Regions from separate parts of the Homo sapiens genome. Here regions 2, 3, 4, 5, 6 and 7 are each linked to region 1. Evidence: promoter capture Hi-C in 16 types of primary human blood cells and fetal thymus (Javierre and others, 2016). All regions are on one chromosome and are shown on one strand. The core of a region is centred on a gene start or on the middle of the fragment in contact, and the rest is flanking DNA. Distances in the headings are between cores, read along the strand shown. Region 1 holds the start of SPAG16 (sperm associated antigen 16). Region 2 overlaps LINC00607 (long intergenic non-protein coding RNA 607). Region 3 overlaps LINC00607 (long intergenic non-protein coding RNA 607). Region 4 has its middle 12 kb from the start of FN1. Region 5 overlaps FN1 (fibronectin 1). Region 6 overlaps FN1 (fibronectin 1). Region 7 overlaps ATIC (5-aminoimidazole-4-carboxamide ribonucleotide formyltransferase/IMP cyclohydrolase).

Region 1 (4,014 bases), core at 1,067-3,566:
TCTACATATTTCGTTTAGTCTTCATACTTTAGTAAGGTAGGTACTAAAATCTCCGGTTTACAGAACAGGAAACTAAGGCTCAGAGAACTTAATTAAGGTCATACAGAAGAGGCAGGAGACAAACATCTGTAGAAGATCACACACTACATCTAAAAAGTCAGAAATAGATGAGCCATTGTAACGAACAAAAACAAATAAAAGTAAACAGTAATCGCTCTGAGAGACCATCCTTCATGTCTTTTGTGTTCCTACATGTCTTGCTGGATATGCCAAAAATGTAAGGCCTTGACCACTCCTTACCCAGGTCATTTGTTAAGGCTGGATTTATAGGAAACAACCTTGAGAGATAAGGTAATGCCTTCTTCTGAAATAAAGAGAAAGCTTTCTGTAAAAGCAGTGGATTCTCCAATGTCAGAATTCTTCTGTATTTTCAGCCTCCTGTAATTGTTCCTTGCATTTAATGAGTACTCAGGAAATGTCTGATGTGAGAAGTCAAGGACAAAGAGTAGGGTAGTAAAAGAATAGGTACCAGGAATGAATTACCCGACTATTATATCTGTGACCCTTGATTATTCTAAAAAATAAAACAATATCAAACACATTTAATAGAAATAACAGCTAACATTTCTTAGTGTCTTCTATGTTCCCAGTAAGTTCTTAATGCTTTTTGTTGCTTTACCCCTTGCAACAGCACTTTGAGGTAGGTAATATTGTTGTCTTTGTTCTACAAATGATGAAACTGGGGCCTAGAGGCATTAAGTAGTAGTTTGCCCAATGTGTCATAGCTAGTAAGTGATGGAAGCAGGCTCTGAAAGCTGTCTCTCTGGCTCTGACACACGTACTCTCAAACACCTCCTTAGGAAGTTACTGCTACCTTTTGGTAATAAATGGGAGCTTTTATAGGATCACTGGCTTCCAGTTTTCACCAAGAAATGTAGAATGAAAAATAATACCATTTGCCCTAGCAATCCCATTACTGGGTATATACCCAAAGAAACAGAAATTGTTCTACCATAAAAACACATGTACATGCGTGTTCATTGATATTCATGATAAAGACATGGATTCAACCTAAATGCCCATCAACGGACTGGATAAAGAAAATGTGGTACACATATACCATGGAATACTATGCAGCCACAGAAGAATGAGATCATGTCCTCTCAGGGACATGAATGCAGCTGGAGGCCATTATCCTTAGCAAACTAATGCAGGAACAGAAAACCAAATACTGCATGTTCTTAGTTGTAAGTGGGAGCTAAATAATGAGAACAAATGGACACAAAGAAGGAACAACAGACACTGGGGCCTACTTGAGGAGGAGAGTGGGAGGAGGGAGAAGATCAGAAAAAATAACTATTGGGTACTACACTTAGTACCTGGGTGACGAAATAAGTTATATACCAAACCCCTGCGACATGAGCTTACCTGCACTTGTACCCCTGAACCTAAAATAAAAGTTAAGGGAAAAAAAAATATTTGCAAAGAAAAGGGCCTTGAATTTGCTTCTGATACATACGCGATATAACCTGAGGAAGATCCTCTCAGCAATAAGACTATACATGATGGGGCAAGTGTCAACTGCATACATTTGTCAGGACCAAATTTGTAGCTCATAATTTTTATGCAACTGTTTTTACCTTGGCGAGAATCAATGCTACAAATACTATTCCAAGTCTTAGTATATGGAACCAAACTCAAAACAGATGTCCAGCTAAATGCATTAAAGATCACAAGAAAGGAATTGACAAAGCTGAACACCATAGTTCTTCATTGCTAAGCATCTGAGGAGCGTCTGGTAGCTCCCCTGGGTCAGTCTTTCTATTATGATTTCTAGAACTTTATTTTTTCATTTTTTAAAAAATTCCAGGTGTTGAGAACTCACCTTTTCTAGTAGTTTTCCCTGGGAACACTTGGGGATCTACAAACATCTGAAATTGGAGGATGCTAATGGGCAAGAATCAAGAGAAAGGTAATTCAGAGACGACAACGAAGTGGGAAAGAAATTACAGGGTCAAAGCGAAAGAAAACCAAGCTGCTTGGGTAGGAAGGTGCAATGCAAGCCAATTGTTTACTGTATCTTGTCCGCTCCCAGAGCTGCGCCCGAGCTCTCGCGTTAACTAGGCAACATCGTTGCCACGGTAACTGGGAGGCGCGGGAGGGCGACAGCTCCCTGGACTCCCGGTAACCCTTACGTGCCCGGGGCTGGTCCGTGGGGCGGGGTGAGAGATGCCGGAATCTCGCGAGAGCTCCCGGGGGCCGTTGGGTAGCGTCTTCGCTGTTGCCCTTAGGGACGGCTGTGGGCCTGCTGGGGGTGGGGGCCCGAAGCGCCAGAGATGGCTGCTCAGCGAGGGATGCCCAGCTCCGCCGTGAGGGTCCTGGAAGAGGCGTTGGGCATGGGTTTGACGGCAGCCGGGGACGCGAGGGACACGGCGGACGCGGTGGCGGCTGAGGGCGCCTACTACCTGGAACGTATCCTTCCCGTGGAGGCGCGGCCCGCTGCGCTGGCGGGTAATGGGTGTTGGGACGAAGGCGAGGGCCTCCCACTGGCGGCGCCTTTTGAGCCTTGGGGCCACTCCGGAGGAGCCTCTGTTGGACTTCAAGGTGCTGTTTTTGCCACCACAGTCTTCCTGAGAGCCACTCACTGAATTTCTCGCCCTTAGTAGCCCAGGGTGTCCTGTACCTGTTAGAAGAGTTGGGAGACCTTCCAAGGCCTCATACTTAGTAACCACTCAGTACATTTTGGATGGAGGGTTGCTTTTTATGTTAAGACAGCACAACAAATTGCTTCAACCCTCCTTTCAAATAATGGGTTTCCTAAATAAGCCCTCAATCTTTCAGAAAGCCGTCCCAATAAATTCAACGGAGGAACGTTAGGAGACTAGGGAAAGACCTCTGCCATTGGACTTTAAGGAGCTGAAGCTCAGAATACCCAACCCACGATCCTGTTCGATGGTCCAGTTAATGCTTAAATGCTTAGTTTTGATAGCATTATCTTCCTGAGTAGTTCCAAGTTTGACTACTTAATAATAAATACTAATAGTATAGTTGCTTTTTTTTCTTGAGCAAATAAATAATGATCTGGTGAGCTACACAGCTCAGAGATATTAGGAATAAAGCAGATGGTGATTAGCGATTTTTATCGGAAGTACCAGAAAAATTGAATAACAATGTGTGGATAATTAGGTCCACTATTTCTTGTGTAAGGCTTTAGAACTTCTTTCCTCTAGTTATATAGATTAATTCCTACTAGGGAGACGGGGAGGGTTCATGAGAAAAAGACATGTAACTCCTTTATTCAGGGAGGTAAGAAAGAGATGATTATCTGTTCAGTTCTTAAAGATACCAAGGAAACTCCAAAATCTGCCAAATCTTATTTGTTTGTCCAACTGTAATCCTCTCCAGGTTTAATTCAAGATTTCAGAAATCCAGCAATGATTCATTTCGTGAGCTTTGACAAGCCGATTAACCTGTCCTGACTCAGGCTCAGTACACATCCACACTACAGAGAGCTTTGAAGAATTTAGCTGAAAGATTAAAGAAAATATGTAGTATTTTATTGGGTGCAAAAACGACTTTTACAGGAATAGAAATTTGAATCGCTTGAAATGAATTTGAAAGAAATATATGGGTGCTTTAGTGTCATAAATGAGGTTTTATACTGTTTTCGTAGATGTAACAGGCAGTCTTTTCCAGTGATATTCCTCTTTAACAACGATTTTCATAATTCTTCCTAAGCTTATCTATATCCAGTGCCCTTGCTACTGAATGGTAACCAGGCATCTTGTAATTTTGTTTGCATTAAAATTATTTCCGTGAACACATAGTTTAATTGTTAACATGAGATTGACACAATGAGGTAACTTTTTGCAAACATCTTTGTGAAATAAATGGTAGGAGTCTAACATAACACAACTTTCAGCAATGAAAATCAGGTTTACTTAATGTGCAGGGAGATCACTGAGTCACACCTGCCAAGATGTAGCAGTTTGCAAACCTGTCTTACAAAGACTT
Region 2 (4,014 bases), core at 635-3,134, 2.4 Mb after region 1:
CAAGAATTAAGGCTACAATTCTTAATACCTACATGTTGTTTGGCCAGTTACTTAACTTTTGTTTCTTAGTTTTCTCATCTGTAAAATGGAGCTACTTGTTTCTACTGCATGGAAATATTATGAGAACTACAAGTATTAGAACAATGCCTGCAGTATAGCAAGAACTCAACGTTAGCTATCATGTTTATTTAAACTTCCTAATTCACTTTGTAACTTCTGTGCCTAAGGTGAAGATCCAGGAATACTTAAAGAAATCTCTGAAACAGTTTCTTCTTCGTTTTTTTTTTTTTTTTTGAGATGGAGTTTCACTCTTGTTGCAGTGGCACCATCTCAGCTCACTGCAACCTCCGCCTCCCAGTTTCAAGCGATTCTCCTGCCTCAGCCTCCCGAGTGGCTGGGATTACAGGCATGCACCACCACGCCCAGAAAATTTTGCATTTTTAGTAGAGACAGGGTTTCAAACCATGTTGGTCAGGCTGGTCTCGAACTTCCAACCTTAGGTGATCTGCCCGCCTCGGCCTCCCAAAGTGCTGGGATTACAGGCGTGAGCCACCGCACCCGGCCAACAGTTTTGTAACCTCAGCACCACTGGCATTTTGGGCTGAATAACTTTTTGTTATGGGGGTGCTTTTCTGTGCATTGCAGATGTTTAGCAGCCTCTACTCAGCAGGTGCCAGGAGCATCTCCCCATTTCAGTCATGACAACCCAGTATGGCCTCAAGACATAGCCAAATGTCCTCTGGGAGAATGAGGGAAGGGACAGAGTCAAAACTGCCCTTGACAAGGACTCTAGAATATTCAAAAATTTAAAGCATATGTCTAAAGCAGATTTTCTCTATCAATGGCACTGTCCAAACATAGACCAGAGATTCAAACAGCAACTATTTCTTTTTTAAAAAATCTAATTTCTGATAGGATAATTTAGTTACAATTTGAGGGGAAAAGGTGAAACAAGAAAACATAAAGGAAAAGAAGGGAGAGAGAAAGGAAGAAAAAACAGGAGGGAAGGAAGAAAAAGAGAAAGAAGAAAGGAAGGAAGAAAAAAGAAAGAAAGACACTTAATTGTACAAGAAGAATTATCTATCACTTAACTAGAGACCAGGTCCTCTCTTCCTCTATGCTACAGCAATTTCCAGTTTTTTTTAGCTAACACACAGTAACTGAAATCTAGAAGCTTTATCTAAAAAGCATTTGTTTTAAAAGATTAAGGAAAATCCCATTAGATGGTTGGTGGCCTGTGTTTTGTTACATAAGTCATGTGGGCTAACTTAAAGATCAACCACTCCTTTCAGTGCTCACTTCTGAAATGGATTTTGTTGGAGGGAGAAAAGGAGGAAAAGATAAAAAGGAACCAGAAATGTCCATTCATTCTATTCATGAAAATTGCTTTTAGTATTTATTTACCTCCAAGTCTTTGTTAGACAGGACCTCCATTATTATCTTACTCATCTATTTTTATTCCTTTTGACAAAAACTCACTTCTAATTACTACAAGATAGTTTAAATCAACCTCCCTAGTGCTCAGGTTGGTGTCGATAAAGCTAACTCGGCAGTTTGGTTTTTGAAAATTGATGAGGAGGAAGAAGAGCTCAGATTTAATTCTAACCAGCAAAATGTAACTCTGATCCCAAAAGATCACCAATACATCCTTGAGGCAAGTAGGAATGTATACATTAAAATGTATTAAATAGTCCAGTCCAAACTCAGTGCTACATTCAGAAAACATCAGCCTAACATCCAACAATAACTAAAAACAGTGTAAATTTTTCTTTCACTTTCCTTAAAAATTCCAGGAGGAAAATTATGTTCACAATGCAGACTAGAAACCTCTGTTGTCCATTTGCCACTAGCGCTGCCACCCATATGTAGCCGTGTCCCCCAGCAGTTCCTGTCCTTTGAAACTCCCCTAGAACTCAGCCTCCAACTCAGTGCTTGTATTTTCAATTTCTCTCATCCCTTCCACCTTACCAATGTATTTGTTTTCTTCTCACAGTAGTTGTCTGTTCTTTTGATGTCTATCCAGCTATGATTCCCAACCTTAAAAGATGTTTTCTTCTCTCTCTCTCTCTCTCTCTTTCTTTTTTTCTTTGAAACAGAGTCTTGCTCTGTCATCCATGCTGGCGTGCAGTGGCGTGATCTTCGCTCACTGCAACCTCTGCCTGCCAGGTTCAAGTAATTCTCCTGCCTCAGACTCCGGAGTAGCTGGGATTACAGGCACACACCACCAATGGTAGTTGTCTGTTCTTTCGATGTCTATCCAGCTATGATTCCCAAACTCATAAGACAGTCTCATGGGCCCAACAAGTAAGGAAATACAGAATCTCTATCATTTAGAAAAGACAGAAGCTACAAATACTCATGTAAATATATTTATATTACATATAATATGTGTATGTGTGTGAGTGTGTGTGTGTGTGTGTGTATGTGTGCATAACCCATCCCTGTACAAAACAAATAGAGGGAGTTGGCTTGTTTATAGAATAATGAAATATGGAACTATTCTCACAGTGAAATCATTACATGAAACTTTTATCAGAAAGGAAAATAATTTTCATTGCCTTTCTAGTGAGTGGCTTGGCTATGTATGTTTCTTCTAAGCTTTTATGACTGTTAGTACCAAGATGAAGTAAGATGAAGTTGGGAATCAATTCAGCTGCTCTTTCTTTCTTTTTTTTTTTTTTGCTTTTGAGAAAGGATCTCCCTCTGTCAGCTAGGCTGGAGTGTAGTGGCATGACCATGGTGGCAGCTTTGGCCTCCCAGGCTCAAGTGATCCTCCTGCCTCAGCCTCTGAGTAGCTGGGACTACAGACATGCACCACTGCACCTGGCTAATTTTTTGATTTTTTGAAGAGACAGGGCCTCTCTGTGTTGTCCAGGCTGGTCCCAAACTCCTTAGCTCAAGGGACCCTCCTGCCTCAGCCTCTGAGTAGCTGGGACTACAGACATGCACCACTGCACCTGGCTAATTTTTTGATTTTTTGAAGAGACAGGGCCTCTCTGTGTTGTCCAGGCTGGTCCCAAACTCCTTAGCTCAAGGGATCCTCCTGTCTCGGCCTCCCAAGCTGCTGATCTTTCATTGAGTTTCATTCAACTCTTCCATTAAACTCAATTCCAATTAGCTCTGCCTTCTGTTTTCTTTAAAAGTATAAGGAAGATGACAACCTCTATTTAATACTATATTTTTAATGGCTTTCAAAAATCACGTAAGTGGTTAAAAGTCCAGAGGGACTCAAGATCAGTGTTCACAGTCTATTAACTTCTAACACATTCTTCCATTATGCTTTGTGCTTTGAAATATTTGTCTTAAAACACAGTCTTAAAAACTGCATTAATTATAATAATGTCATTTTCTTCTTTTCAGAGTTTTTGTTCCATGTGAGATACCCACGCCACTTTAAAAAACAAACTATCCTGACATCTAATTACTTTGTGAATGATTGTAATGGCAATAACAATAGAGATGGAAGAATTTTGGAAACAATACTAGTTTCACAGCTTTCATGTGAGATGCCAAGGTTTTAGCATCGTCAGATTGGCAATGAGATTGGATAACTTCTGGGGTCTTTTTGAAATTATATCTTTCTTTTCTCTAGGATCCTACTTCTGGAAAATAAGATTAATACTAATACTAATAAGACACAAAGATTTTTAATGGAAATAGGAATATCTTCAAAGGCTGGATGGACATTGCATGCACTGTATGACAACATTCGTGTATAATAAGATCCTTTCCTTAGAGAATGGGGCAAATCCAGATGGAATGTGAGAAAGACTTCAAGGTTTCAGTGGAATATGCTTATATTGGGAATTGTATTAGTTAAGACTAGGTTTGGCTGCACATGACAGAAAACCCAACATAGTCACTTACACAGGATTAAAACATTTCCTTGTCATATGAAAGTCTAGAAGTGGTATGTAGCTCTGGGTGTCAGGGATGAAGATTCCTTCTAACTGGGAACCCAGCTTCCCATTTCAAAGATTGCTTCATATTCAAAATGGCTGCTGGGTCTCCAGG
Region 3 (4,014 bases), core at 642-3,141, 2.4 Mb after region 1:
GGCAAGAGGTGCTTTCTCATTTCTGACATCTGGGATGATAACTGTGCAGCCGTGTAAATAGCTTTAGGGAAACTCTACCTCAAGATCTCCAAATCCCTCTCTTTTAGTCTTTTCACTTTTAGACCTTTTAAGCTTGCATATCACAGCAAATCATGATGAGAAAACCAAATGGAAAGGTTCCCAAAGCAAAATGAATGGAGCTATTAAAATAAGATAAATTAGGCTACATTCAACAGCAAAATTTGGCTTTAGAGACTCTGTTATCTCCACCTTAACACTACCTATCAACGCTGACACTCAAATCTTAGGCTTAACTATTATATAAACAAGGCTATACCTAAGCACCTTGGGTCAAAGTCTGTTCTGCCTGTTGAAAATGTGAATAAATGACAAATTACTCCAAAGTTTGTGGTAAGATTTCCATAGGGATTGAGGATTGATTAACAACTGCATTTTCAATTTTACTGTGAACCAGTATCTGAAAACAGTAAAACTTTTGTTTCTAGAAAATAAGCACTTTTAAAAGTGCTGAATGCATAAAGGGAGGTTTTGAAGACTCACCTCCCCCAGGACTCACATCGTCTGAACAAGTAATCAGTTTCTGCAACTACCATTTGCTCGGTCATCGTTTCTGAGTTTGGTGACAAGGGAGGTATTACCAGATGAATACAGCAGTACTCTATTACCCAATCTTTTGGGTTATTAGGGTTGGTGATAAATTGCTCACAGTAGGAGTTGTCTAGCCTCACCTATCAGTTACTGAAGTCACAGAACGGTGTGATAGGCTTCAACTCTAACTAGAGTTTCAACTTCTGCTACTACTGTGTCACTTTGATCAGGTCACTTCAGAGATTTTGTTCCTATTTATCAATAAGATGCAGAAAAAAATACTCCTCACTTTCTTACTCTACAAAAACAATGTGAAATTGTTCATGCATATACTTATGTAGCTTCCTGAAATAATCTGTGCACAAATATGTTCCTTTGCCCTATGTGCCTACCGTCTGACATCATTAAAAGATCTGACAGCCAATGTTAGAACCACACTTTACCAGCTGCATTAGCTTTTCAGTGCCTGCCATACCCATTCCTTGCTGTTTGAGAGTTGTCATGTCTGATCACCCTCCTCTCTGTTAGTTGACATCAACTCTGGCCCGTCCTTCACTTGCTAAATTTTACCTCCTCCCCATTTTTCCTCCAACCAGTCAAATGAGCTTAATGAATTTCTAGACTAGTGCTTCTCAAACTTTAGTGCGCAAAATAATAATAGAAATCTTGTTCAAGATGATTCCAGTGCCCCACCCCCAGATTTTCTGATTCAGTAGCTATGGGGAGTACCTGAGAATTTGCATTTCTAACAAGCTTCCAGGTGATGCTGATGCTGATGCTGATGATCGTTCTGAGTAGAGCTGGCCCAAATATGGAATCTACTCATGAAACTATTGAGGAATGAGAGCGGAAGGTTGGGAGGAACTGAGAGAAGGGGAGATGACTACAAGTGGGTGGTAAATATTCAGAGCCAAGAAATGACTAGTAAGAAAAAATTGAAGGTAAAGAGTTCTATTATGGAGTTTCCTGGTGTAGTGGACTGCACAGCTGATATTCTGCTGTGGTTTTCCCAGTATGGAAAAACAAATGAACACACATGTCTGACTATATAATTTGGGAACAGTATAGAAGTCCTGACTATTACTCTTTTTACTGGACATCATTGACTCCAGAATGTCCAAGAATGTCATAATGAAATAATTTTTTCGGACACTAGCTGTTTAACAAAGAAGTGAACCAGTCAGGTACAGTGCCTCACACCCATAATCTTGCATTTTGAGAAGCCGACGCAGGAGGATTGCTTGAGGCTAGGAGTTCCAGATCAGCCTAGGCAACAAAGCAAGACCTTATCTCTACAAAAAATTAGAAAAATAGCCAGGAGTGGTGGCATGCACCTATAGTCCCAGCTACTTGGGAGGCTAAGGCGGGACGATAGCTTGAGCACAGGATTTCCAGGCTGCGGTGAGCTATGATTGCACTACTGCACTCCAGCCTGGGTGACAGAGAGACACCTTGTGTCTAAAAGAAAAAAAAAAAAAGATTTAGAAAAATTTCCAAAATATAGTAGCATCCATGATCTCAGAAACAGAAGTTTTAAACAAAGACTTTAAGCAACTGTTATAACTATCTCCCATAAAGTAAAAGTGAACACTAAATAAATGTATGGAAATTTTTTTTTGTATTTTTCCAAACATTTATTTGTATGCATAAAAAAACAAATACAAATTGTAGAATTTGAAAACAATAATATCTGAAATAACTCACTGGACAGGCTCAGTAACATAATGGGGATGATGGAGGAGTCAGTGGATTAGCAGGCAAGTCAACAAAAATTATTCACTTCATCCAAATTATCCAAGAACAGAGAGCAAAAAGCTTTATAAAATAAATACAGCCTCAGGAACCATTGGGGAAAATATCTAATGTTTGTGTCACTAGAGTCATAATTAGAAAAGAGAAAAGTATTAGTGTAGAAAAATATTGCATAAACCATGATAGAAACTTCCCAAATATGGTGAAAGGCATACATTCACAGATTCAAGAAGCCCAGCAAACCCCAAACAAGATAAACTCATAGAAAACCATGTCCAGATACATCAAATTTAAACTTTTGGGAACTGAAGATAAAGAAAAACGTGTGAAAGCCACCAGAAAGGGAAAACATGACACATTACATATGGGGAAAAACAATTTGAAAGATGGCTGATTTCTCATTAGACACTTTAGAGGCCAGAGGAGAGTGTCACAACATTTTTAAAGTGTCAGGAAAAAAGGGACTGTCAGTTCTGAAATTATCATTCAGGAATAAAGGCAAAATAATTGCCTTCTCAGATGAAGGAAAACTAGGAGACTTCATTATCAGCAGGCGTGTTTAAAAAAATGCTAAAGGAAGCTTTTCAAGGTGGAGAAAAGTGATAACAGAGGGAAACTTGAAACTTCATAAATGAAATAAAAGCATAATAAAGGGTAAATATCTTGAGAAATAGACTGATTTTCTGCTTTTAAGTATTTAAACATGTATGATTATGGAAAACAAAAATTATAACATTATTTCACAGGGTTCTCAATGTATGTAGATGTAAGATATATAAAAACTATAAAATAAAGAAGGGAGATTAAAGAACTCAATATGCTTGCAAGGTTTCTACATTTTCCTTGAAGTGGTAAAATATTAATTCTAAATAGACTTTGGAAAGTTAGGTCTGTATATTGTAATTCTTTGAACAACCACTGAACCATTGAAAAGTAACACAGTGATATAGTCAAAAGGCCAATTAATAAATTGGAATTAAGTACTGAAAAATATTCATGTAATCCAAAAGAAGTCAGAAAGGAGGAAACAGAAGAAAACAGAGAGGATAAGCAAAACACAAATAATCATAGATTAGACTTACATTCAACCATATCAATAAACACATTAAATGTAAATGGTTTAAACACCAGTTAAAAGACACAAATTATCTTATTGGATAAAAAAGAGACCAAACTATATGCTATCTATCAGAAACCAATTTTTAGCATAATGATACAAATATAAGTTAAAAGTAAAAGGATGGAAAAGGATATACAATGTGAATGCTAATCAAAAGAAAGCTTGAGGAGCTATGTTAATATCAAAGTAAACTATAGAATAAGGAATATTTCTAGAGATAAAGAGGAACATAAAATAATGATAAAATGGTTAACTCACCAAGAAGATACCAGCTCTAAATGTGTATGTACCTACAAATAGAGCTTCAAAATACATAAAACAAAAGTGGATAGAATTGTAAGGAGAAATTAGCACATCCACAATTATAGTTGGAGACTTCAACTCAGCAGTCAATAGAACATTTTACAGACATAAAATTAGTAAATATAGATTTATGGAAGACCCAACACTATTGACCAACTTGACCTGAATCGCATTTAACCAATCTCTGTACCCAACTATAGCAAGATATATATATGTTTTATAAATGAATT
Region 4 (4,014 bases), core at 426-2,925, 2.2 Mb after region 1:
AGATTTTTAAAACAGGTTTATTGAGATATAATTGCCATCTCATAAGCCCCACATACCTGTATACAATTTGACAAGTATTGACATACTTTTGACAATTTTCTATTACGTACATTTTATCTTTTCTTTTTTCTTTTTTTTACACCACCCCTCTCCACTTATTACATATATTTTGACTGTTGTTTTAATATTTCCTTTTAGCTTATATAGCATTAAATCCTTTTCTATCAGTCTGAGCTTTGGAAAGAAATTTTATTTTTTTGGAACAAGATATCAAAGAGTAAAATTGAAGAAAAGTTTAATCTCAAACTCATGGGGGAAAAGACATCACAGGAAATAAATGCTAAAACCATGGCTTTTTTATGTGTTGAATTAAATAGTTATTAAGTTAATTGGTAGATAATTATGAGATCTATTATCATTTAATATAATTAGTATGTAAATAAGGTGATATAAATTATGTTCTGTGAGAAGTTGTCACTGATGGTGATTGTTATCTCTGTGTAAAAGTGAGAAAACCAACAGAAAGATGATGATTATTAGTGGCAAGATTAATGATCATGGGCCTTTTCTAATTCTTATGGCCCAATCTGGTATTTTTCTTCTCCTCATTTTGACTTTACCTATACTTTTTTTTTTTTCCACACAGGCCAGCATATTATTATAGCTCTTTCAAAAATTTTATATTGATTCTTTTTTCCCCAACAGTACTGTAAACTCTTTGATTGTAGGCACTAAATTAATTCCTTTTAGAAAGACTTTTTTTTTTCTTTCTACCATTTGAAGTTTTTTAAGTTGTGTGGTGGAGACTGCTAGTTGCCCACACAGATCCATTCTCTTCTTTCACAGTTAGTCCCATTGTACACAGTTAGGCTAAATTTTACAGTCTCCCTTGTAGTTAGGCATGGCAATAGAAATAGTTCCTCATCAGTGGACTGTGAGAAGAAGCGATCTATCCCAACTCTGGTTCTGTGCCTTAGTTTAATAACGTCACTCCTCCAGATTCCCTTGTTCATTCCCACTAGCTGAAATACACAACACAGAGGACACCCAGCTTCTAACCATGTAGATGATCAAAATGCCTTGGGAAAATTTGGGACCTGAATTATCATGAAGAGCAGACCTTGACTATTGACATGAGCCATTCACTTTGAGACTGTTGCATGAGAAGTAGACACCCTCCTTTATTGTAGAAGGCCCTGTGTTACTGAGCAGCTTTGTTACAGCAGCCCAGCTTTCATAGTAACCAGTATGATGCACTACCTTCCTTACATGCCTAGTTGCTCAGCTGCTCTGTTCCTGCTGACTGCATGTGATTTGTTTACTAGCTTTGCCCTGGTATTTGCAATTCTACTTTCGAGTTTCCTCTCTTTTCCTAGCTTTCCATAAACTCCACGCAGAATTTTAGCTTCTAAGCTAAACTCCCATAATATTTTACCATTTGTTTTTAAATAATAAATTCAAGTCTTCCGTTAAATATTCTTGAGCACCTGCTAAGAGAACTGTTATGGTTTGAATGATGTCCCTCCCAAATTCAGTCTGGACCCCCAGTCTTTCAGAATGTAACCTGATTTGGAAATAGGATCTTTAAAGAGGTCATCAAGTTAAAACACGTACATCAGGGTGGATCCCAATCCAATATGACTGCTGTCCTATAAGAGAGGGAAACAGACACACGGGCAGGGAGAATGCCAGGAAAGATGAAGATAAAGATCAGGGTGAGGCATCTACAAGCCAAGGAGAAACGAAGATTTACCGCAAACCACCAGAAGCTGGAGGAGAGGCATGGAATAGATTCTTCCTCACAACCTTCAGAAGGAACCCACACTGCTGACATCTTGATTTTGGACTTCTGGTTTTGAGAAGTGTAAGACAATGCATTTCTGTGGTTTAAGGCCTCCATTCTATGGTACTTTGTATTACCCTAGCAAATGAATCCAAGCACCTGGAGTATTAATGATAACAAGAGAATGAGTGATAAATTTAGGTTCATAGATAGAACTCCAGAGGCATGACATAATATGCCCAAAGGCAAATGCCTGGTTAACTGAAGGGCTGAATTTGTTGATTCTTGCTCTTTCTTACAGATGTTTTTGTGTCAATCATTGTGTGTAGGAGACGTTGATAGATAAGATGTAGGCTCTACTTTTAAGGAATGTAAAATGTACTAGTCAGTTGACAGAGATAAAAAGGTTGATTTTTGTACACTATTGGCAAGTGTGTCAGTTGGAAAAATGTATACATGTGCACAGATTTTTAGGAGTGAAAATTGAGGTAATCTTTTAAAAGGACATTTTGGCAATATTTAAAATGCACGAACCTAAGACACAGTAGACTGAACACAAGCATTTCCTCTACACCCTCCTGAAATCACACCTATAGTTCAGAGATGAAAACAATTTAAACCTACAAGAATAAAGAGAATAAGAAAGGAGACAGTAGATGAGAGACAACAACATTTTGGAAAAAGGAACACAGGTGGAGAAGTGATACCTAAGGTCACAGAATTAATGCCTGCAAGCCAAAAAAAAAAAAAGAAGCTGATTGATATTCAAGAAACCCGGAAAGCCTCAATCATGGGAGGCATCAGGTACCTCTGAAGGGAGGGCAGGAAAGTGGGACTGAGAGGTGTTTGAAAGTATCTGCATAAAGAATAACTGGACGCCCTTGTTACTCCTGCCCCTATTCTACCCAGCCATGGACTGATCCACTCCTCTTGCCCAAGTAGGACCCAGGAAATTTGCTGTGTAGATAGATTGAACCAGAAAAACCCCAAACTCAGTGGCAGGGAGGGTGATAGTGGTGAAGCACAGGGCTAAAAAAAATGGAGAGTTAAGTGAAGGTATACATGCTTACTCTCCATTTGGCAGATTGAAAATGTTCTCTCTGGACTTAGTCTCTTTGGAGACAATAATCTGTAGATCTGACACTGGGGAGTCCTGTAGTGAAATAGCCAGATTCTAACCCCATCACCTACAGTGTTGCCAATCAGTCACTAAGCTCCACTCCTCTGTGCAGTTTCCAATCAGATCTTTAGTGTCCCGATTCTAAACATGAATGGATGTCAAAGGATCAGTCACCAAACCTTTGAGAAAAGCCTCTGACACAAAAGGTTAAAGTGAATTTATAGAATACAAAACAAAAGAATAAGAGGCAATGCAAAAAATAGAAGAAAGTGAAAAATAAAAACAAACTAAAACCTAAAATCATGACTGTAGAAAGAGAAGATATTGTGAGAAGGAAACAAGAATAGTGATCTATACATGTATGAATATTTAGAGACCAAGACCCCAATCCTATAAGATTAGCATCCTTATTAGAAGAGACACCAGAGACATCTCCCCCACCCTGTACGCCTTCCTGACCCCAGGCAAGCACAGAGGAAAAGGAATGTAACAGGAAAAGAGCCCGCACCAGAAACGAACCCTGCCAGACCTTGATCTTGACTACCAGCCTCCAGAACTGTGAGAAAATGAATTTCCATTATTTAAGCCCCCTAATTTGTGGTATCTGTTATGGCAGCCCAAGGAGACTAGCATAATGTATCACATTTAATAAAATTAAATGAACACTAAAAACAGAATGCATTTGCCTTTTGAGGCAGCAATTCCAAATTTCTCTCTGTTCTTTAAGATATGTAACTTAACCTAGGAGTCAGCAAACCCAGGGGCCAAATCCAGCCTACCCTTTGTTTTTGTGCAGCCTGTGAGCTAAGATTGATTTTTAGAATTTATGCAGTTGAAAAATTTAAAAATAATATTTTATGACATGAGAATGTTATATGAGATTCAAATTTCAGTGTTCATAAATGAAGTTTAAAAATATATAGCCACATCTATTTTTAAAAATGTATCATCCCTGGCTACTTTTCTGCTACAGTGGCACAGTTGAGCAGTTGTGACAGGGACCATATTGACTACAAAACTGAAAATATTTACTATGTGTTCATTTAGGAAAAAGTTTGCTGACTGCTGGTGTAGACCATCTGAGTGAAATTTCCTTCCAGATTCTTATAAT
Region 5 (4,014 bases), core at 1,051-3,550, 2.1 Mb after region 1:
TAGAATGCTGGCAAATAAAACTAGGGCATGAAAGTGAGTTTTTCTCACTTCTGTGGCTCCCCCTTGGGACACTCACCAGTGTGGTCTGTGCAGAAAGAGTATTTCTGGTCCTGCTCATAATTCGAAGTTGTGCTGCACCAAAGATGTCCGTCCTGTCGCCCTTCTGTGGTGCAGGAGTAGAACGTCCTGCCATTGTAGGTGAATGGTAAGACACATGGCTCTCCATTTGAGTTGCCACCGTAAGTCTGGGTTACAGCTACAATCATAATCAAAAGAGTGTCAGTAAACAGAGATGCTTTATCTCCCACCAGCAGCTGCTTATTTATGGCTTCAATGAGATACTGAGCTTGTGCCCTCAAAGGAAGAAGCTATGAGTATAGATGATCATCTCGTTAATTTCAGTCAAAATGCATTACTCAGGAATCCATGTCTACTGTGGATAGAACGACACCTGAGTTCTTCTGCTGATGTCCTTCATGACCACTTCTGCTGCCATGCCTCAGTTTCTCTATTTGTAAAGCTATATTTATACAGGTCAATTAAGGATGCTGCTTAAGGATGTTGGGATAATATTTATGACTATATCTATGCCATAAAATTAATATATGAGACTATTCTGGGGGAGAATTGTGTAGCAATTGTTATTGCCATAGTGACTACCATGTTTGTAGTGCAGAATACATATATTAGGTTATTGGAAGATGTTTACATCACAAAGCTGCTGAAATTTGAGATTTAGAATATAAAACATTGATGATTATTCAGAAAGTAGCTCTCTTGTAACAACACTTTAGACAGATAAATACAATAAAATTTTTACCCATGATATCCATGACCAGAAAGAAAATACATAAATTAAAAAGATTGGAAGAAACTATTTCAAATGCCAACCCTAATTGTTATCACAGGGTGGTAAGATTACAGGCTTCTTGTTTGTTTTATTGTTTCACATTGAAAATGTATTGTCCTTCAAAAACTAAATAATAAAGTCATCAGTCCTATTCTTCAAAAAGATAATGCATACCTGTCTCTTGGCAGCTGACTCCGTTGCCCAGGCACGTGCAAAGCATTTGCTTATTTCCTTGTGTCTTCAGCCACTGCATCCCCACAGAGTAGACCACACCACTGTCTGTGACACAGTGGCCATAGGGAGGAGGCTGGGGGTGAGGCTGCGGTTGGTAAACAGCTGCACGAACATCGGTGAAGGGGCCAGATCCTAATGGCATGAAAAGGGAATGTCACAAAACTGGGTGAGAGAAGACAATTCACTACTTTCTGCAGTCAGGATCTTCAGGATCTCACAGAGATCACTCTGAAATCTATGTCGCTACTGGCCTGGGACTGGAAAAAAATGTCCCTTATTCAGCAGTAGCTTTTGCATTTAGCCTAGGAAATAATCCACAAGTGTCTACCAAGTGGTCTCCATCCTCCAGCTCAGCTGGGGCTACTGGGATTATATTTCTTTTTGTTTGTTTGTTTTTTGGTTTTTTGGGTTGTTTTTGAGATGGGGTCTCACTCTGTTGCCCAGGCTGGAGTGCAGTGGCGCGGTCTCGGCTCACTGCAACCTCTGCCTCCTGGGTTCAAGCTATTCTCCTGCCTCAACCTCCCAAGTAGCTGCAATTACAGGCACGCACCACCATGCCCAGCTGATTTTTTTTGTATTTTTTAGTAGAGACGGGGTTTTGCCATGTTGGCAAACTCCTGACCTCAAACTCCTGTCTCAAACTCCTGACCTCAGGGGATCCACCCGCTTCGGCCTCCCAAAGTGCTGGGATTACAGGCATGAGCCACCTCGCCTGGCCGGGATTATATTTCTCAATCACAGACATCATCCTGCCACTCCATACAGCAGATACCTTCAACACATCCTCACTCTTCTGAGTAACCGAGCTCATCAGAGGGTGCCTTCAGCAGCTGTCCTGGATTTTCTGGAGGTCACCTCCACCTTCCACATTTTATTTCTCCTCTGGATTATTTGTGATTCTATTGTGTTTTTTCTAAAACCAATTGATCCTCTTAAGACAGCTTTCCTTTCAGAATAACACAACAGGATGTGTTGATCTTTTCTTTTTTCTTTTTTTTTTTTTTTTTTTTTTTGAGACGGAGTCTCACTCTGTCACCCAGGCTGGAGTGCAGTGGCGCAATCTCGGCTCACTGCAAGCTCTGCCTCCCGGGTTCACGCCATTCTCCTGCCTCAGCCTCCCGAGTAGCTGGGACTACAGGCACCCGCCACCACGCCCGGCTAATTTTTTGTATTTTTAGTAGAGACGGGGTTTCACCGTGTTAGCCAGGATGGTCTCGATCTCCTGACCTTGTGATCCACCCGCCTTGGCCTCCCAAAGTGCTGGGATTACAGGCGTGAGCCACCGCGCCCGGCCGATCTTTTCTTTCAACTTTTAGATATCTGTTCTCTTGAAGGCCAGGGCCCACCGCAGAACAGAATCAGGGCTGAGGCTAGACCAAAGGTACACTGAATTCAGTGCCTCCCTAAGTGCTGCTGAACACTAGAACCCAAAGATGTTCACAGACAAAGAATCCCAAGGTCAAACGTACTAGGGAGACATGGCGCCCATCCCCTACACTCTACCATGGAGAGTATGATGTAAAGGAACACACAGATTCTGCAGAGCAGGTTCCATTTTGTTTAACCCATTGCTTCTCAAACTTTTTTGAACAATGGAATCTTTTCAGTATTGGCAATATTCATATATAGCTAACATTTATTGAGTGTTTATCCCCATTTAATTCCCACCTACACTTTTAATCTATTTTGGTAGACTGACATTTATAATTTTTTTTATTTTTTATTTTATTTTATTTTTTTGAGATGGGGTCTCGCTGTATCACCCAGGCTGGAGTGCAGTGGTGCGATCTCGGGTCACTGCAAACTCCACCTCCCGGGTTCATGCCATTCTCCTGCCTCAGCCTCCCGAGTAGCTGGGACTACAGGCGCCCGCCACAACGCCTGGTTAATTTTTTGTATTTTTAGTAGAGATGGGGTTTCACCGTGTTAGCCAGGATGGTCTTGATCTCCTGACCTCGTGATCCGCCTGCCTCGGCCTCCCAAAGTGCTGGGATTACAGGCGTGAGCCACCGCGCGTGGCCGATGTTTATAATTTTTTTTGGCCAGTAGCAATTTTATTAATGATAATAAAATAACTCAAAGATATTATCAAATCTAATCTTGTTCACCTTCATAAGTGCTCAAAGCAAGACAAAAACTCATCAAAAGAAGAAAAATTAGAACAATTAATATTTTTAATTGAAGGATGGCTGAGACACTACGTAATGATGTTGGCACATCATATAGTAAAAAGTTAATCAAAACATATTAAAAATAATGAGAGGAGTGCACGTCCTTGTTGGCCATATTTCTCTCTTCAGATTTTTATGAAACATTTATGACGTAAAAATCTTTTTCTCATGCCAAAAATGATTAAAACTTGTTTTTTAAAAAGAATGCTTAGATATCATGTCTTTCATGGCCATCTCTAAGTCCTCTCTGAATTTCTAAAATTTCGAATGCCAATACATGAAGGAAATAATTGTGTGTTACTTTATAGAATGTAACAAAGTTTGCCAGAGCATAGAAACCACATATAAAGGATGGTTTCCACTACAAAAAGAGTTCAATGTCGGGACAGGGAAGTATATTTCATTCAAAAACAAACAAACAAAAAATCCAAATGCACTTTTTTTGTCCTTTCCTAGCAGAAGAACCAGGTAGTCATATAATTAATTATAACTCTCATTTCCTTTCAAATGAACTTTGGATATTCAAAATACGTGTGTGTGTGCGTGTGTGCGTGATCTATCCATGGTAAGTTTTATGATGCTAGCATTCTTTAAAACTCAGTTTTATCTTTTGGAGATAAATCTGGCTTTTTTCCCCCTAAGGTTTATTTGTATGTCATTTTTCTTTTTTTCTGAAAAATTTAAAACTTGACATTAAAAAAAGTTTTAACAACCAATAATGTGTAAATTATCTTAGGTTATTAGCTGAAACACTGCAAA
Region 6 (4,014 bases), core at 787-3,286, 2.1 Mb after region 1:
GCTCACCAAAGCCCACCTGGGCCAGCTCCTTTCTATCCCAGGGGGTGTGTCTCTCTGCTTTCTCCCCTCCCAACTAAACCTTAGTCATCGTAAACCTCAGCCAGTTCATGCTTCTCTTTCTTGCTAATTCCAGCCTACCCAGAACTGTATTTGTCAGACCCACTTAGAACTTAATTAGCTTGACTTTGAAATGTATGCTAATTTAACATCTTCAACTATATCATTAAGAGCCAAGCCATTTCTCATTTCCTCTGTTTTTCCTATACTACTTAGCACAGTGCTAGACCTATAACAAGCATCTGTTCTGAATCAAGAGAGAGGTTAAAAGAAGTGGCATTTTCTTACATCTGAGATATTATTCAAAATATTTAACAACGTTGCCATGGGACACCTGTCCATCAGAATGGAGTTGGAGGCCTAGAGCTACACTGCACTTAACACTTTGCTGAAAAATAGAAGCAGCCTGAGAATAGTAGGGGAGGGGAGGGTCTCAGGCTGCCCAGGATGGGGAGAACCGGCTGAAATGAAACACATTCTATTTACCACTAATTAATTTGAATAGTATCTCTGCTTCACTATTTTTCAGTGTAAATAGTATCTCTGACATGCTAGGGAGCTTAGGAAAATGATTCTAACATCATATAAATGACAGGTGTTGCTATTAAGAATGACTCAAGACTTGTGTTTTTGGTACTCTACATGCCATTCATTCATTCTTTCTACTAAGAGTAATAGAAAGAATGAATGGCATGTAAGGTAGACATAGAGCTGCTCTAGAGCTCTATGTCAGCAGTTGTATGCCAACAGGAAATGTGGTATTTTAATACTTCCGAAGGGTCTCTGCCCCTCCTGTGTGTACGACACATCCTTGCAGGAGCCCACCCTTTATCTTATCTAACTTGTAGGGAGCCTGGCACATCCAGTCTTACCCGCTGGCCTCCAAAGCATGTGCAGGAGCAAATGGCACCGAGATATTCCTTCTGCCACTGTTCTCCTACGTGGTATGTCTTCCCATCATCATAACACGTTGCCTCATCTGCATATAGACACAAGACAGATGCACGCATAAGCTGAGAACAATACTGCAGACTTGATCTAGGGGTGGGTTCTATTTCTGTCCTAAATTTGTATCATCACAGCGCAAACACCACATATTTATGTGAATCATCCCTAAGAGCAGTACTGCTATACAGATCTTAGGGTGGCACTTCCAAAAATTAGACCTAATACACTGGAAAGGGTCCAACGGGAAGATGGAAATCATATTTTAAAAGTTGAATCTACAGACCAATAAAGCTTCTTTGTAGCATTTTACTGCAGATAATGGTCAAAATACTCAGGTTGGACAAGTGCTAAAGTGTCCTGTAATAACATTAAATCATGACTCATTTTTGAAGCTTGTCTCCACTTTCCCAAATCAAAAGATTAAGAAACCCACTGTTCACTCCTCAAGGAGACCTAAAGTCTCCAATCATTTCTGTGAATGAGAGTTACAGCCTGATAATGAAAGTGAGAATGCTTAATAAGGCACTAAAAATGATCTGTGATGACATACGAGGGTCACACTTGAATTCTCCTTTTCCGTTCCCAAGACATGTGCAGCTCATCATCTGGCCATTTTCTCCCTGACGGTCCCACTTCTCTCCAATCTTGTAGTTCACACCATTGTCATGGCACCATCCTGTAGGGGTGGGGAAAGTCAGGACCAAAAAGTTATTTGTATATTCTGACTCACAAGACAGTAGGTGAACTGGGACGTGTCACAGGGTCTTCAGAACCATGATCTGGAAAAATAGCAAGTTAAAGATAAAAACCCCTATAATGGGCCATTTATTTTATTTATTTATTTACTTTTTATTTTTTTTTTTTTTTTTGAGACAAAGTCTTTCTCTGTCGCCCAGACTGGAGTGAAGTGGTGCAATCTCGGCTCACTGTAACCTCCATCTCCTGGGTTCATGCAGTTATCCTGCCTCAGCCTCCTGAGTAGCTGGGATTACAGGCACTCCCCACAGTGCTATTTTTTTTTTTTTTTTTTTTTTTGTATTTTTTGTAGAGATGGGGTTTTACCATGTTGGGTAGGCTGGTCTCAAACTCGTGAGCTCAGGTGATCCACCCGCCTCAGCCTCCAAAAGTGCTGGGATTACAGGTGTGAGCCACCACACCTGGCCAATGGGCCATTTCTTTGGTTGAATTTTAAAATATTATTTTTTATCATTTACCATTTTCTAGGGCATTTTAAGACCCAATTTATTCTGCCACAATCATGTCATCAGAATAGTCAAATGAAATGACTTTCATTTGAATTCTCACTATTAAGATTTAAAATTGTGGAAAACTAAAGTGGGATTGGAGTAGACTGTTAGGAATAGATCCTAGATGAAAAATCACTTTTGGATTTGCAGAAACCCTGGATACAAAGTAGTTCAATTAACCATAAAACAAGGATCAGCTGATCTCTACACGCCACCACCTGTTTCATGTACATGGGAAGAGTAAAAAATGAACCCGGATAAAATAAAACAAAAGCAAACAAAATGCTAAATCATTGGTTATTATCCACATCAAATAAGTCTGGTTCTGTGGAATATCTAAAAGTCACAGTTTTATGCCTTTAACTACTATACATAAGGGATGACTTTTTAACCTCCAGGGCTTATACAACAAAACACACCTCAGAAGCTTATATAACAATATACTACTTTTTCCATTTTATCAACAATTCAGCCTGCCTTAAGCTACAAAGTAAAATAATTAGACAACTGTGATATCAAAACAAAGATTATGTAAGTTGAGCCAAAGAGTCACATAAATGAACTTGACATCCCCGCTCCCACAATTGCACCTAAGTGCTCAAACAGGTAATAAACATACAAACTTAAACGTAGTTCGATTTCAGGAGTTAAAAACCATCTACTTGAAGTCAAATATTAAAATTTCCAGCTCCTAAACAGCATGTGATGTTTTTAGTGTTTTTCATTTTCAGATGGTCAAACATGGAAGTCTATATTGAAAACACTGGCTGGCTTTTACAACTTCAGTCTGGATTAAATGATTTCAAGTATACAAGTTAAGTAAAATACTTTGAAAATCTCTTTTACCAAGTCTTATATTCTAATTCCACAGGATATGATTTCTGTATGTCTATAGGAGGCTTATTTATAGGCATAACGGTCAACACCTATAAAAATGAACCAATTGTCAATAATCATCACATCTCCTAAACACAAAGAATAAATGAAAGGTTTATAAATTCTAATCCTAATCTCAAAGCATAATAGATATTTCCTAGGCACATTTTAACTTAAAAAATTTGAAAATTAAAACGTATTAGAATTTGAAAATCAAACATTTATCAATTCAAGTTGATTTTTAATGATCTAAAAGCAGATTATCTGTTTTTTCTTTCATATTTCTAGCAACGTTCAAGCTACCTGGGCTATGTGTGTGACGCAAAAGTGTGTGCATGGGTACTATGATATGTGCATGTTTGGTTTATGTTGAAGGAGGCTGTTTTTGAGTCTAAATGTTCACCTCTGATCTCATTCAACACTGAAGATTAAAAGAGATTTGAGGTTTTTCTGTGTCTCTAATACTCTTAAATAGACCTGGTTCCAAAAGTCTTTATCCATTTGTTTTCACAGAAAATTTCAAAAATCAAATTAGCACCATAATCTTATGTGTAATTAATAGTTGTATTGGCATACAACCCTTGAAATGAAGCAATGTCCAACAAGTAAAATTTCCCATCATTTTTCTATGATGCAAAATATTACTTCGAGTCAAACAGTATTCTCTTGTTTGCTTCATGTTTGGAAGAACCTGTGTCTTCCAAACATGCTTCCTTGGCACATGAGTGCATGCATGGAACTTGAGGAGACAAACACGGAAGTGGATGGACAAAGCAACTACTCACTAGATGAATCACATCTGAAATGACCACTTCCAAAGCCTAAGCACTGGCACAACAGTTTAAAGCCTGATTCAGACATTCGTTCCCACTCATCTCCAACGGCA
Region 7 (4,014 bases), core at 670-3,169, 2.1 Mb after region 1:
ATCATAGCTCATTGTAGCCTTCGACTCCTGGCCTCAAGCGGTCCTACCACTTCAGCCTCCTGAGTAGCTGGGACTGCAGGTGTGCGCCACTACCCCTAGCTATTTTTTAATTCTTATTTTTTGTAGAGATGAGATGTTGCCATCTTGCCCAGGCTGGTCTCCTGAGCTCAAGCAATCCTTCTGTCCTAACCTCACAAAGTGCTGGGATTACAGGCATGAGCCAGTGCACCCAGCATTGGTCATTTATTTTAACTTTTTTTTTTTTTTGACCTCAAACCATCAATTTTATTGAATTGTAGATTATTAATAGTCATATGTCACATATCACTGAAGAGGTATAAATAGTAGTTATAAACAAACCTCTTACTCCACCCCTTTTAATGACTTAAAAATTATTTATATTTCTCTTATTTTGGCCTGATATGTTCTTCCACAAAACTAATAAATAGGTTTTGGAGAATGTGCACAAAAGATCCTTTTGAGAAGAAAGTGTCTTTGGAAGAGGTGTTCACTTTAATGTCTGTGTTCCTCAGGTTATCGGCATTGGAGCAGGACAGCAGTCTCGTATACACTGCACTCGCCTTGCAGGAGATAAGGCAAACTATTGGTGGCTTAGACACCATCCACAAGTGCTTTCGATGAAGTTTAAAACAGGAGTGAAGAGAGCAGAAATCTCCAATGCCATCGATCAATATGTGACTGGAACCATTGGCGAGGTGAAAGACTTGGCATTGGGTTCTCGGCTGTGTTAATATTCAGTTCAACCCTTTATGTGTAACAGATTTTAACTTCATCACCACACAGAGAAAAAGATACTTTCATTGAAATTCTATGTTGTCTAAAATTGATCATTGAAACTTCTTACACATTTCTCATGTTCTTCTGTCTCATGTAACTTTCTTCATTGTTTTTGACCCCTTTCTGAAACCACAGTCCTCTGTCTTTTTAAATTGCAGCCTTGGTGTAGGTTTGTATATTTGTACTTCCCCTGTTGATTATAAGCTTTTGATGACAAGGACTGCTTTTCACCTACGTCGAGGTGCCTGCCACCACGTCATGCATGGTGCTTGCTGTCCGATGGGTCTGTATTCAACATTAAATACAAATTGCCTGACGGCAGGTAACCCTGGGGTCTTCTCCCACCACATTTTCTACATGTGCCATTAATAACTTGATACATTTTGTTACATTTCATGTTCTTCTGTTTGAAGAAGGTATGTGGGAACATTACAATCGCAAACGTTAGGTAGGTAGCCCGCCAGAAGAAAAGATCTAGCCCAGTTTCTGGACATATTGCGTGCCTAACAAAATGCTGGATGGAAAACAGAAGGCTGCTAATCAAATACTAGATGGTCTTCTGAAGAGCCAATTGACTACCCTCAGTTTTTTATTCAGGAGCAGGAATCAACATAAGTGTCATTGAAGAGTGAGGCTGCAGAATGTAACTGAAGTCCTTAAGATATCTTTTTTTTTTCAACTTTGATACTTGGATTTTTCTGTTTGATATTACCAGTCAACCCCTGCTACTAGTCCTGAAAGAGTCCTGGAAGTGAACAAGAATAAAAGTATGTCAAAGCTAAAACATGACCCAAGATAGAAGCACCTTGTAAAATATGATTAACTGTCTGTGCCACTATGACACAATACTGCAGGCTGGGTAACTTATAAACCATAGACATTTATTTTTCATAGTTCTGGAGGCTGTGAAGTCCCAGATCAAGGTACTGGTGGGCTGAGAGTCTGGGGAGGCCTACCCTCTGCTTCCCAGATGGCACAGCCCTCTCTGGAAAGGACAAACACTGTGTCCTTACTTCACAGAAGGGGCATACTTCCCCTGAAGCCCTTTTATAAGTCTGTAATCCATTCATGAGGGCCCCACCCTCATTGCCCAATAACTTTCTAAAGGCCTTATACTTCTTAATACTGTTGCATTGGGGATTAAGTTTCAACATGAATTTTGGAGTGGATACACACACTCAAACCATAGCAAATATTATGAATTGTGTTTTGTCTACAACTGCCTTTACATTTAGAATAATTTTTGTATAAATGTAGTTAAAGAACTACTCATCTCTTTCCTAGATTGGATATAGAGGGTTTTTTTGAAAACCCTTGGAACACAATTTTTATTTGCTTTCTTTGCTACAGTAGTACCAAAGCAGTAGATTTAAATTAGACGGTAGTCTAATAGACATAAAGTAGTAGATACGAAGTAGATTTAAATTAGAGATTTTAAAACAGTGTATTTTTATGTAAGTAGCTTAGCCAAAAATAAAAAAAATTACATATGTACTTGGAATAAACTGATTTGGAAAGTAAAATGGTATTATCTTTATTTGGTAAACTTAGAATCACTTTTTTTCCTTAATGAAAATATTTCTAAAAGCATCAAAGAGATTCTAGATATGTGAACTTCCATGTAAATAATGGTCATTATTTACAATTAAGAAATCCTGGCCGGGCGCGGTGGCTCATGCCTATAATCCCAGCACTTTGGGAGGCCGAGGTGAGTGGATCATGAGGTCAAGAGATTGAGACCCTCCTGGCCAACATGGTGAAACTCTGTCTCCAAAAATACAAAAATTAGCTGGGTGTGGTGGTGTGCACTTGTGGTCCCAGGTACTTGGGAGGCTGAGGCAGGAGAATTGCTTGAACCTGGGAGGTGGAGGTTGCGGTGAGCCGAGATCGCACCACTGCACTCCAGCCTGGTGATAGTGCAAAACTCCGTCTAAAAAAAAAAAAATAATAATAATAATAAAAACAAGTCCTAAGAAAAATGCCCAGGTGCTTTCTGGCATGGTGATTTGCACCACATAGAACTAAAGACGATGTCAGACCAAGCTTCTTCCTTTCTCTCTCCCCGCATAGGATGAAGATTTGATAAAGTGGAAGGCACTGTTTGAGGAAGTCCCTGAGTTACTCACTGAGGCAGAGAAGAAGGAATGGGTTGAGAAACTGACTGAAGTTTCTATCAGCTCTGATGCCTTCTTCCCTTTCCGAGATAACGTAGACAGAGCTAAAAGGGTAAGTATGGAATTGGGTGCATTTGCTTAGAGTTGAGCATTATGTAGAAACTGTTTCAGAAATCCTGCTTTTGATTTTTAAAAGGTGTGGCAAAGTGATACAGATCAGTAATATTCAGAGAACCATTTGACTTCTCCATTGGGTGGATGGAGAACCCAAATCCTGTTGTTATTTTGCCTTTTTGACTGAGTGTATCTTTGTTAGCATATGCTTTTTAGAGGGGGATTTTGAGTTTTGCAGGTTTTTACATAAAATCGCGTTTTGAAAATCAATATACTTCCCCCAGAGTGGTGTGGCGTACATTGCGGCTCCCTCCGGTTCTGCTGCTGACAAAGTTGTGATTGAGGCCTGCGACGAACTGGGAATCATCCTCGCTCATACGAACCTTCGGCTCTTCCACCACTGATTTTACCACACACTGTTTTTTGGCTTGCTTATGTGTAGGTGAACAGTCACGCCTGAAACTTTGAGGATAACTTTTTAAAAAAATAAAACAGTATCTCTTAATCACTGGATCCATAGTTTTTGGTAGTTGTGTTTTATGTTAAAGATGCAGGCTCTTTGAACTGACACATGACACATAACACATAAATGAGGAATTCCAGAGCACCCCTGCCTACCGGAGCTCAGCCCATCCCACAGCACTGCCCGTGTGAAACATAAACATTAGCAGGAACCAAACGAGCTGAGCAGCCAGAGGACATGGCACAAGTCACTGTGTACAGGCCACACTTAAGGACTGGGAGTTATACCCATCTTAAAGGTGGAGTATTGATGTAAATTACCTAGAATTCTTCTGCATGGGAGTTGTATATTAAAGGTCCATGTTGCCTCCTAGGGGAGTCTTCTCATGCCGTTTTTGTTTGTTTGTTTTTCATTTTTTTAATTTGTTATTTTGAGAGGGAGTCTCAAAAAAATAGCTCTGTCACTCAGGCTAGAGTCCGTGGCACCGTCTTGGCTCACTGCAACCTCCGCCTCCCGGGTTCAAGC

What was found. Contacts are between HindIII fragments. The CHiCAGO score rates a contact against its expected background, and 5 or more counts as called.
Region 2: a fragment that was not itself captured here is called in contact with the fragment with the promoter of SPAG16 in region 1 in 4 of 17 cell types (total CD4 T cells, naive CD4 T cells, non-activated CD4 T cells and 1 more); the score reaches 7.7 in total CD4 T cells.
Region 3: a fragment that was not itself captured here is called in contact with the fragment with the promoter of SPAG16 in region 1 in 1 of 17 cell types (naive CD8 T cells); the score reaches 5.2 in naive CD8 T cells.
Region 4: a fragment that was not itself captured here is called in contact with the fragment with the promoter of SPAG16 in region 1 in 2 of 17 cell types (naive CD8 T cells and activated CD4 T cells); the score reaches 8.8 in naive CD8 T cells.
Region 5: a fragment that was not itself captured here is called in contact with the fragment with the promoter of SPAG16 in region 1 in 1 of 17 cell types (naive CD4 T cells); the score reaches 5.2 in naive CD4 T cells.
Region 6: a fragment that was not itself captured here is called in contact with the fragment with the promoter of SPAG16 in region 1 in 7 of 17 cell types (naive B cells, non-activated CD4 T cells, naive CD8 T cells and 4 more); the score reaches 7.6 in naive B cells.
Region 7: a fragment that was not itself captured here is called in contact with the fragment with the promoter of SPAG16 in region 1 in 6 of 17 cell types (total CD8 T cells, total CD4 T cells, total B cells and 3 more); the score reaches 9.2 in total CD8 T cells.

What each region holds. Positions count from the first base shown.
Region 1 is chr2:213,282,148-213,286,161 of GRCh38, forward strand. SPAG16 (sperm associated antigen 16) reads left to right here and starts at 2,317. Exons shown (of 16, transcript NM_024532.5): 1 at 2,317-2,472. The coding sequence starts at 2,337. It overlaps SPAG16-DT (SPAG16 divergent transcript), which reads right to left and starts at 2,062. Exons shown (of 3, transcript NR_161186.1): 1 at 1,886-2,062. RefSeq lists enhancers at 2,350-2,479, 2,520-2,569, 2,640-2,719. The HindIII fragment of the contact is 3,357 bases long and covers 380-3,736 here.
Region 2 is chr2:215,686,292-215,690,305 of GRCh38, forward strand. All of the region lies in intron 5 of LINC00607 (long intergenic non-protein coding RNA 607), which reads right to left. The region is part of intron 7 of LOC102724861 (a long non-coding RNA gene); the gene reads left to right. Among named protein-coding and RNA genes, the nearest start is that of LINC01614, 30 kb to the right of the region's middle. The HindIII fragment of the contact is 1,424 bases long and covers 1,173-2,596 here.
Region 3 is chr2:215,669,980-215,673,993 of GRCh38, forward strand. All of the region lies in intron 5 of LINC00607 (long intergenic non-protein coding RNA 607), which reads right to left. The region is part of intron 4 of LOC102724861 (a long non-coding RNA gene); the gene reads left to right. Among named protein-coding and RNA genes, the nearest start is that of LINC01614, 46 kb to the right of the region's middle. The HindIII fragment of the contact is 1,062 bases long and covers 1,361-2,422 here.
Region 4 is chr2:215,446,008-215,450,021 of GRCh38, forward strand. No RefSeq gene overlaps it. Among named protein-coding and RNA genes, the nearest start is that of FN1, 12 kb to the left of the region's middle. The HindIII fragment of the contact is 6,217 bases long and covers 1-4,014 here.
Region 5 is chr2:215,424,070-215,428,083 of GRCh38, forward strand. FN1 (fibronectin 1) reads right to left here. Exons shown (of 46, transcript NM_212482.4): 7 at 1,025-1,216; 8 at 77-256. Among named protein-coding and RNA genes, the nearest start is that of FN1-DT, 9.6 kb to the right of the region's middle. RefSeq lists an enhancer at 1-452. The HindIII fragment of the contact is 5,386 bases long and covers 1-4,014 here.
Region 6 is chr2:215,363,950-215,367,963 of GRCh38, forward strand. FN1 (fibronectin 1) reads right to left here. Exons shown (of 46, transcript NM_212482.4): 42 at 3,914-4,014; 43 at 1,556-1,681; 44 at 930-1,036. It also overlaps a transcript of ATIC not described here. Among named protein-coding and RNA genes, the nearest start is that of ATIC, 54 kb to the left of the region's middle. The HindIII fragment of the contact is 1,282 bases long and covers 1,396-2,677 here.
Region 7 is chr2:215,346,226-215,350,239 of GRCh38, forward strand. It overlaps ATIC (5-aminoimidazole-4-carboxamide ribonucleotide formyltransferase/IMP cyclohydrolase), which reads left to right. Exons shown (of 16, transcript NM_004044.7): 14 at 534-716; 15 at 2,869-3,024; 16 at 3,311-3,539. The coding sequence ends at 3,430. Among named protein-coding and RNA genes, the nearest start is that of ATIC, 36 kb to the left of the region's middle. The HindIII fragment of the contact is 1,839 bases long and covers 1,001-2,839 here.